Regions from separate parts of the Homo sapiens genome. Here all the other regions are linked to region 2. Evidence: promoter capture Hi-C in 16 types of primary human blood cells and fetal thymus (Javierre and others, 2016). All regions are on one chromosome and are shown on one strand. The core of a region is centred on a gene start or on the middle of the fragment in contact, and the rest is flanking DNA. Distances in the headings are between cores, read along the strand shown.

Region 1 (3,452 bases), core at 205-2,704, 310 kb after region 2:
TATTATTTCATTTAATCTTCACCATCACCTTATAAGAGTGCTTGGGGGTAGGTGCTCCACACAGTAGCAACGTAGCAACCTCCACTCATAGTGACAACGAGACTCAGTGTAGTCAAGCAACTTCTCAAAGTTCACACAGCTGGAGGGTGGCTGAGCCAGGATGAAGACCTAGGACTCTAAAGCTGGTGTGCCAGTAAATGAGAAAAGTCTCTAAGCGTTCAGGATAGCTTCCTCCCAAGAAATCTTTCTCCAAAAGTTCTAAAAACAATGACAGATCCATCTTTTATAAAGCAGACAAAACTAGCAGTCCGTTCCTTTTAGAGTGGGGTGTAAAGGTTAGCTAAGCTCCAGGGCATCCCATTTTAATCCTATATATTTATAAGGCAACTGCCAGCAGAGCACCCCAAACCTAAAGAACCCTGCACAGCTGTCTCTGTGGGGCATGGCGTGTCCATGGATGTAAAGATTTTCCAATGTGTGCTTACGGGCCTGTGGCATCACCCTCAGTCACTGTCAAAGGGTAGCTAGGCCCTGCCCGCTAGGCACCATCCTGAGAATCTGCTGAGCTTTCTAACTAGTTTATCTGTTGTTTGCAGTGAAAGATGCCCTGAAAAGAAGGGGTGTGGGTGGGAAGAGTTCTGATTTGAGGTCCCCTGATCCAGGCATGCTCTTCTTCCCCAGTTGCAGGAATCAGGGGACTCTATCTGTAAATGCGGGCTCAAGCCATGCCCCCCAGCTCCCTCTTTCAACCAGGTGCCACCCTCTGCTTCTCTTCCATAGACAGCCTAGAGCTGCCAGCAGTCCCTTAGGATCTGTGGCCTCAGGCCTGGCTTAATTTTTTCCTCTCCAAAGAGCCATCTGTAGGGCCAGAGGCCGTCAAAGCCTGACTCATTACTGGATGCCAGTTCCTTTGCCTGACCTTCAGTGATTCCTACCTTACCCTGCGGTTTTATGTTTCTTGTCTCAACACTATTATTTCTTATTTCTCCACAAGTTGAATTGCTCACTCCAGCCCCTCGAAGCATGCTCTTTTTGACACAGTTAGCTTTAGGCACATGGTTGGTGCTAAAAAAAAAAAAAAAAAAAAAGAGCATTATGTCGTTTTCATTGATTAACAAACGTGATGGCTTCACTGCAAAGTAAAGTTGATACTGCCTGGACCCCTGAGTTCAAGAGTCTTTTAGACAAATGGCTCTGAGCTAAAACATGAGCATGCAAACATATGCATCTGTTTCGGTCTGATGAGATAATTTGGATACTTGGTTGTTATCCTTGAGCATTTTCCTGCCTCATTAATGCATGTGTAGCCAGCACAATAATAATCATAGCTAATAATGGCTAAAGCTGAGGGCTTTCCTGAGCCAGGCAGTGGCTTTAAAACTTTAAAGTGGCTTTTAAAACTTTAACAGCTAAAGCTGAGGACTTTCCTGAGCCAGAAAGTGGCTTTAAAACTTTAAAGTTTTCACATGGACTCTCATTGAATAATTTCTGTTTTTCAGATCAAGAAACTGAGACTTACTATCACATTTGGGATTAAGTTAAAAAAAAAAAAAGAAACTGAGGCTTAAAGCTGTCAAGCATTTCACAGCCAGCAAGCAGCTAAATCGGAACTTGAACCCAGGCAGTCTAGCCCTGGGATCCTGTGCCCTTCCTTACCCATTATCCAGTGTTGGCTACACAAAACTAATGAGTACATATTTTCAACTATAGTTTAAGTGGGTGACATATTTTTCACTATATTTTATGTAGGTGACTTTCAGTTTGGGGGTATTCTACTTACACAATCTATTGAGCTGGATATTACTGAGAACAAAAAGAAACTAATGAACTCTGAAAAACATAAAACATGAGCAACATGACATCACTGCAAAAGACAAAACAGCACATAGCCTTCTTGTGACTGTATTTTGCTGACAGTCCATGAGCTGATAGCCTGAACTCAGCAGTGCTGTTCCCTTGGGAGACACACACACACACACACACACACACACACACACACACACACGAGTTGGTGGTTTTGTACCTCCCCCCGCCCCTAAATACACACACACCAGTTGGTGGTTGTGCAGCCTGGAGCTTCCAGTCCGCGAGTGTGAGGAACGGACTAGATGGGTCCAGCAGTGCTGGGTCAAAGCCAGGAGGGGGCAGCCGGAAGCGCGCACATGCTCTGGACTCGTGCACCCGCCGAAACGGGTGCGCACCGGGCGCGCGGGGGTGAGAGGTGAGGGGTGAGGGGTGAGGGACGAGAGGGACGGGAGCGGGGTAGGGGCAGCCCTTTCCCAGGCGGTAGCGGGGGCGGTGGTGCTGTTGTCCTTTTAAGCTGTGGCTTGACAGGAGGAGCGCCTCCTGTCGGTGGAGTCTGTTACAAGGGGAGCAGCCGCCCAGGCCGCCACACAGCTCCCCGCAGAGGCCTCGGTGCCCCTTGCCATTTTCCAGCCCTACTCCGACTAGAGTTGAGGCAGCGGGGAGAGGCGGAGCCGCGAGAGCGCCGCCGAGAGGTCCCGCGGGTGGTCGCGGCCATGACAGCGGCTCCCGACCGGCTCACCTTCCGCGCCCCTCCCGCCAGAGGTGAGAGTAAAATGTCCGTGTCAGGGTTCAAGGCCAAGCTGAAGTTGTTGTCCTCTATTTTCCACAAGAACCAGGAGCCGCCGCGGCAGCTCAGGCTCCACTGCAACATCACGGTGAGGCGCCCAGCGGCGGCTTCACACGGCAGGGCGAGGGCGGAGAGGAAGAGCCCGGAGTCCCGGGACAAAGGGGAACCTGCCCAGGAGAGGCCCCGGTTCCCCGGGCCGGGTGAGCGCGCACCTTTCTCCCGCGACTGGCCTGGCCCCGATCGCCGGGACTGCGGGAGGCTTGGGTGGGAGGAGGGGGAGGGCGCGTCTCTCTGGCTCCTTGCTGCGGGGCTGGCTTGGGGGCTGCCGGCACCTCTCGCCCCAGTCACCGCGCCCCGAGGTGGGAGCCCGCGTCGCCCGCAGCCCTTTCGGGGCCCATGGTCGCCCTCAGTCAGCCAGCCTGCTCCCCGGGACCGCGACGGGGCGTGGCAGGGCGTCTCCGGCTGTTGTTTGAGCCCGGGCGGGGAAGGGGAAAGGCCTTCAAGATTTTCGGGGTTTTGGCCGGGCGCAGTGCTCGTTCCTGTAATCCCAGTACTTTGGGAGGCTGACGCAGCTGGATCGCCTGAGGTCAGGAGTTCTAGACTAGCCCGGCCAACATGGTAAAACCCTGTCTCTACTAAAAATACAAAAATTAGCCGGGCATGGTGGCAGGCACTTGTTGAGATGGAGTCTCACTCTGTCGCCCAGGCTGGAGTGCAGTGGGGTGATCTCGGCTTACTGCAGCCTCCGTCTCTTGACAGTCCATGGGTTCAAGCGATTCTCCTGCCTCAGCCTCCCGAGTAGCTAGGATTACAGGCTCCTGACACCACGCCTGGCTAACTTTTGTGTTGTTTAGTAGAG
Region 2 (3,823 bases), core at 352-2,851:
AATTTTCCTGTGCTGGAAAATGAGGAAAGCAGTGTAGCTGTGAGAAATAGTAAAAGTGTTTCAGGTCTGTCAAGAAAACAAAACCAAATCACACCATTTCCCCTTCATTTCATCTTTGTTAAATGAATACCTAAGCCAACGGTGTGCAAAGCGAAGGGCTGAATGCTTTAGTTTTCCAGTCCTCACACTAAACATTAAACTCATCTGACGGGATTCACAACATCTCTTTAATAATTAATGGTACGCGCTCAGGACAAAATCCTCTATGATGCATAAATACTTGCTAGTACCGGCACCTCCTGGTTGTTTTGGAAGTTTGGAGAGGATGGTGGATGGACACCCCCTCTTTTTGAAAACATTTTTTCTTCATCTGTCATTTGAATTACCAAAGCATTACAAGTGTATCATTAAACATTTAAACATTAGAGAAATATACAGAATGAGGGAAGTTAAAGTCCCCGGAATCTGAGCCCTCAGGGATGACCACTATTGAGTTTGTGTGGCATTTTCCTCCTTTTTTTTTTTTTTTTTGAGACGGAGTTTCACTCTTGTTGCCCAGGCTGGAGTACAGTGGTGCGAGCTCGGTTCACTGCAACCTCCGCCTCCCAAGTTCAAGCGATTCTCCTGCCTCAGCCTCCCAAGTAGCTGTGATTACAGGCATGCGCCACCACACCTGGCTAATTTTGTATTTTTAGTAGAGATGGGGTTTCTCCATGTTGGTCAGGCTGGTCTCGAACTTCCAACCTCAGGTGGTCCACCCACCTTGGCCTCCCAAAGTGCTGGGATTACAGGCATGAGCCACCGCGCCTGGCCTTTTCTCCACTTTTTTTTTCCTAAATGTATGTTATTTTATGTTATTCATTTTCCAATAGGGGATCACACAGTAACAGTGTTCTCATAATTTGATTTTTCTAGCAGAGTTCCGCACACTGTTGAGAGCCCATGTGTTACCTTGATTGAAAACTAGCCACAGAGCAAGACTCTACCTTTAAAAAAAAAAAAGAGGGGGGGCACGGTGGCTCATGCCTGCACTCCCAGCACTTTGGGAGGCCAAGGTGGGCAGATCACTTGAAGCCAGGAGTTCGAGACCAGCCTGGCCAACATGGTGAAACCCCGTCTCTACTAAAAATACAAAAATTAGCCAGGCATGGTGGCAGGTGCCTGTAGTCCCAGCTACTCGGGAGGCTGAGGCAGGAGAATTGCTTGAACCCGAGAGGTGGAGGCTGCAGTGAGCAGAGATCACACCACTGCACTCCAGCCTCGGCAACAGAGCGAGACTCTACCTCAAAAACAGAAAAGAAACAAAAACTAAATGCCTCTGAGCAGCACTACTGTCTCCATGGGTGGCCACCACAGGGATGGGCCTGGAGCTGTCCTCGAAGGGGTCTTCGCCAAGCCCTAGTGAAGAAAAAAAGGACGCTACCTGCTTTTCCACTTTGCCCTGTGCTACCCCCTTCCCCTCCTTTCTTCAGTCCCGCCTTCCCTCCTCTCCTACTGTCCTTTTCTCTCACCCTTGTTTCTGTCAGCATCCAGAGGGAAGCCAGGAACACAACACATCCAGCAGCAACCATGCAGTGCAGCTTATAACCTTCACATCGTTGTGGGCCCTAATCTCTACAACAAGGATTTAATGGGCTGTGTGTCTTGGGGTGGACCTTGAGCTTGGAGCCCAAAGGTCTCCACTCCTGACTGCCAAAGTTAACTTGCTGCCTCATCTGGTGGTGGGTAATAGAGCACATGAGGAGTCAGCGTGCTCCTGCTTAGGAAGTACCTGGCAGGGAGTCAAGCGGCATCAGGCTGGCAGGTGTCATTGCTGTCACAGGTCCCATCCGGGGTGTCCTGACACACTGCTCCCCTCCTCCAGGCCAGGAGACTCCGGGCTTCTCCCCTGCTCCTCCTCTCAAGGAGGCATGGCCAGCAGGGATCCCAGACCCCAGAAGCCAAGCGGTCTTTTCAGGTGGAATGTGGCAAAAAGCCACAGGCTGGGGAGTTGGGAGGCTGGATAGATTGGGGTGGAGACCCCAGGGAAAGACCAACAGCTGGAGGACCTCAGGTGTCCCGGCTGTGCCCCTCCAGCTGTGGGACCTCAGCATGTCCTTGGGCTTCTTGGTGGCCTGTTTCCTAAGGAGACAGCCTCTGAGGCCCGGCACACCCGCAGACGCCCGCTGAGTGAGACCTAGAGCTGAGCCAGGCCAGGGCAGAGTGGGGAGAGGACCACATAAATATACATAGATAATTTCCCTCACCATCCAGCAGAGCTCAGAAGGGTTGACAGTAAAGGGGCTGCTCCACCCCTCCAACTCTATCCCATTCCTCAGAGGCAACCACCTAACTTTTCTGGTTTTAGTTCTTCTGCAGGCCACCTCCTGTTTTAGGGAATTATTAGTCAAAGAGTTGGAGAGGATCCCTTCTCGCCAGGCTCTGACATAATAGGTTATTTTATAAGTAGTGAGTGAAACATTCAAAAAGCACAAGAACTGTCAGAAGAGTTGCTCAGCAATCTCTTTATTTTCTTCTCATGATTCTGCCCACACTCATTTCTTAGCTCTTCACAGGCGAGGTCTCTTTCATTGCATCGATTCGTGTATCCAAGCACTGGACAAATAAAGAGGCTTATCACTCGTCAAGTTCCATGAACATGACCTCATCATTCTTCTCTCCTAAACCTGGGATGATTGGCAGAAAGGGCATCCATACAACTTTTTCTTCTGCATTTGGCATTGAAAAATGGACTTCCCGTAGTCTGTAGTAGAAATATTGGAAAGTAGCAATAATCCTAGCACTTTGGGAGGCCAAGGCAGGTAGATCGCTTGAGCCCAGGACTTCAAGACCAGCCTGGGCAACACAGGGAGACCCTGTCTCTACAAAAAATAGAAAAAATTAGACAGGTGTGGTGGCGTGCACCTGTAATCCCAGCTACTCAGGAGGCTGAGGTGGGAGGATCATTTAAGCCTGGGAAGTCAAGGCTGCAGTGAACCATAATCACACCACTGCACTCCAGCCTGGGCGACAGGAGTGAGACCCTGTAAAAAAAAAAATTGATGACATAGAGCTAAATACAAAGACTAAAGAAATATCTTGGGCTTTTATACTCTTTGCTTGTGACTCTTCTAGTTTTCCTGTGGGAACGGACTAGCCCAAGTGTTAGAGCACACTGCTCTCCCGGCAACTACAGAGCTAGTTCAGCTGGTCCCAGGGGAAGAAAGCATTCCAGTACCCCAAAGGCTGGAAGCCCCCAGCCTGCTTGGCATGATTATCCAACGGTTTCCGATATAGTTTACTCCTTGACCCACTCTACTCACTGAGAACATCTGGGCACATGTGGTCATCATCCAATACAAAATGGAAGGCCGAGTCTGGGGCTCATCTACGGCAGCAACAAGAGGCCTGGTAGAATTAGGATGCCGGGTCCCACCTGCAGGAGTGCTTAAGGCCACCAGGCAGGGCGAATTTTACCCAAGCAGTTCAGAGCTCACTGTTCCCAAATATTTAATATTTAATTGATTGTACTTAAAAAGTGTATTTCCCTTGTTGTTCTTTTTACCTTCTATTCCTCTTGCCTCTCCAGCTCATATTAGCATTTTATTTATTCATTTATTTTTTTGAGACAGGGTCTCACTCTGTCTCCCTGGCTGGCGTGCAGTGGCGCAATCTCAGCTCACTACAGCCTCGACCTCCCACCAATCCTCCCACCTCAGCCTCCAGAGTAGTTGGGACTACAGATGTGCACCATACGCCAGCTAATTTTTTTTTCTTTTTTAAAAAATTTCATCCTGGTTGTTCTAATATTTATTTATTTACCTATTTTGTAGAGACAGGGTCT
Region 3 (3,378 bases), core at 413-2,912, 260 kb after region 2:
GCTCGGCATATATCAAATAAAAAATAAAAGAAGAGGGAAACAAGTGCATAGAATAATTCAGAAATTATGGGGCTATGTACCTGTTGGGCCAAAGGCACAAACCCACCCTGCTGTGTGCAGGACTGTTTTACTCTTGATGAGACAGAAGTTACCATCCACCATGGGTTGGCAGCTAGGGCTCTCGGACTTCACTACACTCTCCAGGACAAAACCCCACGAGAACAAATGTGTTCCCCTGGTAGCTGATCTACCACAGGACAGTAGGCAGAGACAAAAGCAAGCACTGAAATGTCCTCGGTTTACCCCTTTCCTGAAGGCCCTGTCCAACTCTTACCAATGGAAAGGACACTGGGACACTGGCTCCAGGCTGTACTTCCTCAAGTTTCTGTGCTCCTGACACTTTCTGGAAATAGAAAGGGTCTTTACCTTCACGTGGGTGACTCAGAACTGGAGAAGCCCCTCCATCTTGACCTGAAATCAAAGCCCAAGACACCAAAGCCAGAAGAGCAGATTCTAACTGACAGCTTGGGGTGCCCTGGAACACTAACAGCTTGGGGTGAAGGCACCTTAGCCCAACAACGTGGCAGCAAAACAACAAAACAACCAGAACCACACCAATGATTTCCAGTATTTCTCTGAGGACTCGGCCCACGTTGTGGGCCATGCTGTCTTCCATTCCACATGGAGAAACATTTCCCCCCATTTTACCAAAGAGGAAACTGAGGCACAGAGGAATCATGAGAGGGGGCCAATCAAGTCACCCAATGTAAGGGAAAAAGACCCAACTTTCCAGACCTTCCACGCCTATGCCCTGTTCTTGAATGTATACGGGACTTGACTCAGACCACTAAAATGACAGTGTCCTGGAAATGAGGATGAGCAAGGGGAAGACTCTGGCAAAACCCCCCAGAATGTTTAGGAAGCACAGCTCTTTGAAAGGGAATCACTGTTGGGGCAGTGTGGCAACTCCCACTCCAGGCCAGTCCCTCACTTTCACTCTTTGCCACTTCAATAAAGTTTCTCTTTCATGTGAGTTCTCTGATGTGTGATAAAGTTAGAGCTGTTGCTGAAGCCTTTGCCACACTCGGGGCATTTGTAGGGCTTCTCCCCAGTGTGGATTCGCTGATGTATAATGAGGACTGAGTTCCAGCTAAAGCCTTTCCCACACTCAGGGCACCTGTAGGGCTTGTCTCCCAAATGGGCTCTCTGGTGCATGACCAGAATGGAGCCCCGGCTGAAGCTCTTGCCGCACATGAGGCATTTGTAGGGCTTCTCGCCCGTGTGGGTCCGCTGGTGCACTACGAGCTGGGAGCGCTGGCTGAAGCATTTCCCACACTCGCTGCATTTGTAGGGTTTCTCTCCCGTGTGGATCCTCTGGTGCTTGAGGAGGTTGGAGCTCCAGCTGAAGCTCTCCCCACATGTCAGGCACTCGTAGGGTTTCTCCCCTGTGTGCATGCCCTGGTGTGCAATCAGACTGGAGCTCTGGCTGAAGCTCTTCCCACACACCCCACACTTATAGGGCTTCTCCACCATGTGGGTTCTCCGGTGTGTGGCCAGGTTAGAGCTGCGGCTGAAGCTTTTCCCACACTCGCTGCACTGGTAGGGTTTCTCTCCTGTGTGGGTTCTCCGGTGGGTGATGAGGGCTGAACTCTGGCTGAACCTCTGCCCACAGTCGGTACATTTGTAGGGTTTCTCTCCTGTGTGGATTCTCTGGTGTCTGATTAGATTGGAGTTGTAACTAAAGCTTTCGCCGCATTCTTTACATTCGTAGGGCTTTTCTCCAGTGTGGATCCCCTGATGCGTGTTAAGGCTGGATCGGTTGCCAAAGCTCTTTCCACACTCGGGGCACGAGTAGGGTTTCTCTCCTGTGTGGGTGCGCTGATGTGCAATGAGGTTGGGACTCCTGCTGAAGCTCTTGCCACACTCGGCACACTGGAAGGGCTTTTCCCCCGTGTGGATCCTCTGGTGGGTTATGAGGTTGGCACTCCGGCTAAAGCTCTTCCCACAGTCTCTGCATTTGTAGGGCTTCTCCCCGGTGTGAGTGGTTTGGTGTCTACTAAAATTTGAACCATCACTAAAGCTTTTTCCACATTCATCACATTTGTAGTATTTCTCTCCTGTGTGGGTCCTCTCGTGTGTGATGAGGTGGGATTTCCGGCTGAAGGTCTTCCCACACTGGGGACATTCGTAGGGCTTCTCCCCTAGGTAGGTGCCCTGCAGGCCTATGAGCTGGCCAACTTCCCTGTCCTGAGAAACCACCTCCCCGTGGTCCTCACCTGGGCTGTGTCCCTGGAGCCTCTGGATGCCAGCATCTCTCTCAAAGTCACTTTCCCCATCGGAGTGCTGAGCACTTTCACCTTCAGGCATTTCCGAGAATATCTTACGTGATTCATTCTCAAACATGTCTTGATTACAGTTCTCCCCATTTTCACTCTGTATCTCAAAATCTGAAACAATGAAGAAAAACATACAATGTCTACTCAACTCCCTGTCATGATGACAAAAGAAAACGAAGGGGGAAATTTATAAAAATTAAACTTCCAGTGAACACAAAGAGGCTAGAAAATCCTCAAAGCCTTTAATAATCAGGTTTAATATACCCAAAGGAATATAAATCATTCTATTATAAAGATACATGCACACACATGTTCAATGCTGCACTATTCACAATAGCAAAGACATAGAATCAACCCAAATGCCCATCAATGATAGATTGGATGAAGAAAATGTAGTACATATACACCATGGTATACTATGCAGCCAAAAAAAAGAATGAGATCATATCTTTTGCAGGGACATGAATGGAATTGGAAGCCATTATCCTCAGCAAACTAACATAGGAACAGAAAACCAAACACTGCATCTTTTCTCTTATAAGCAGGAGCTGAATGAAGAGAACACATGAGCACATGGAGGGAAATAACACACCCTGGGGCCTGTGGGGGAGGGGGAGGGAGAGCATCAGGAAGAATAGCTAATGGATGCTGGGCTTAATACCTAGGTGGTGGGATGACCTGTGCAGTAAACCACCATGGCACGCATTTACCTTTGTAGCAAACCTGCACATCCTGCACATGTACCCCTGAACCTAAAAGCTGATGGAAAAAAAAAAAAAAAAAAACCAACCCAGGCTTATTTCATTCTGACTGGTTGTCAGGCCTCATAATCTTTGTGGCAATCACCCAGAATTTCAAAGCCTTAAAGATTTGGGTTCCATGTCCCCACTACCTGTGTCTTCATCTGAAAATGAGGTCAGGTGGGAATTTTAAAGGACATAAACAGGGTACCTACCCAATTACCCCCACACTCACCATAATGCCTGGTGCTTGATTCAATGTAATGAGTGCATGAATGAGTTTTTTTATTGGTACCATAGAC

Evidence for each region. Contacts are between HindIII fragments. The CHiCAGO score rates a contact against its expected background, and 5 or more counts as called.
Region 1: a contact is called between a fragment that was not itself captured here and the fragment with the promoter of SLC28A1 in region 2, in 2 of 17 cell types (M0 macrophages and M2 macrophages). The highest score is 7.2, in M0 macrophages.
Region 3: a fragment that was not itself captured here is called in contact with the fragment with the promoter of SLC28A1 in region 2 in 3 of 17 cell types (M2 macrophages, naive CD4 T cells and total B cells); the score reaches 7.2 in M2 macrophages.

Annotation. Positions count from the first base shown.
Region 1 is chr15:84,569,828-84,573,279 of GRCh38, reverse strand. LINC00933 (long intergenic non-protein coding RNA 933) reads right to left here and starts at 2,631. Exons shown (of 4, transcript NR_038274.1): 1 at 2,546-2,631; 2 at 936-1,065; 3 at 29-258. It also overlaps the pseudogene UBE2Q2P1. The HindIII fragment of the contact is 4,246 bases long and covers 1-3,452 here.
Region 2 is chr15:84,882,440-84,886,262 of GRCh38, reverse strand. SLC28A1 (solute carrier family 28 member 1) reads right to left here and starts at 1,601. Exons shown (of 19, transcript NM_004213.5): 1 at 1,512-1,601. RefSeq lists enhancers at 1,521-2,021, 2,022-2,522. The HindIII fragment of the contact is 20,311 bases long and covers 1-3,823 here.
Region 3 is chr15:84,619,671-84,623,048 of GRCh38, reverse strand. ZSCAN2 (zinc finger and SCAN domain containing 2) reads right to left here. Exons shown (of 3, transcript NM_181877.4): 3 at 1-2,447. The coding sequence ends at 1,009. Among named protein-coding and RNA genes, the nearest start is that of ZSCAN2, 20 kb to the right of the region's middle. The HindIII fragment of the contact is 168 bases long and covers 1,579-1,746 here.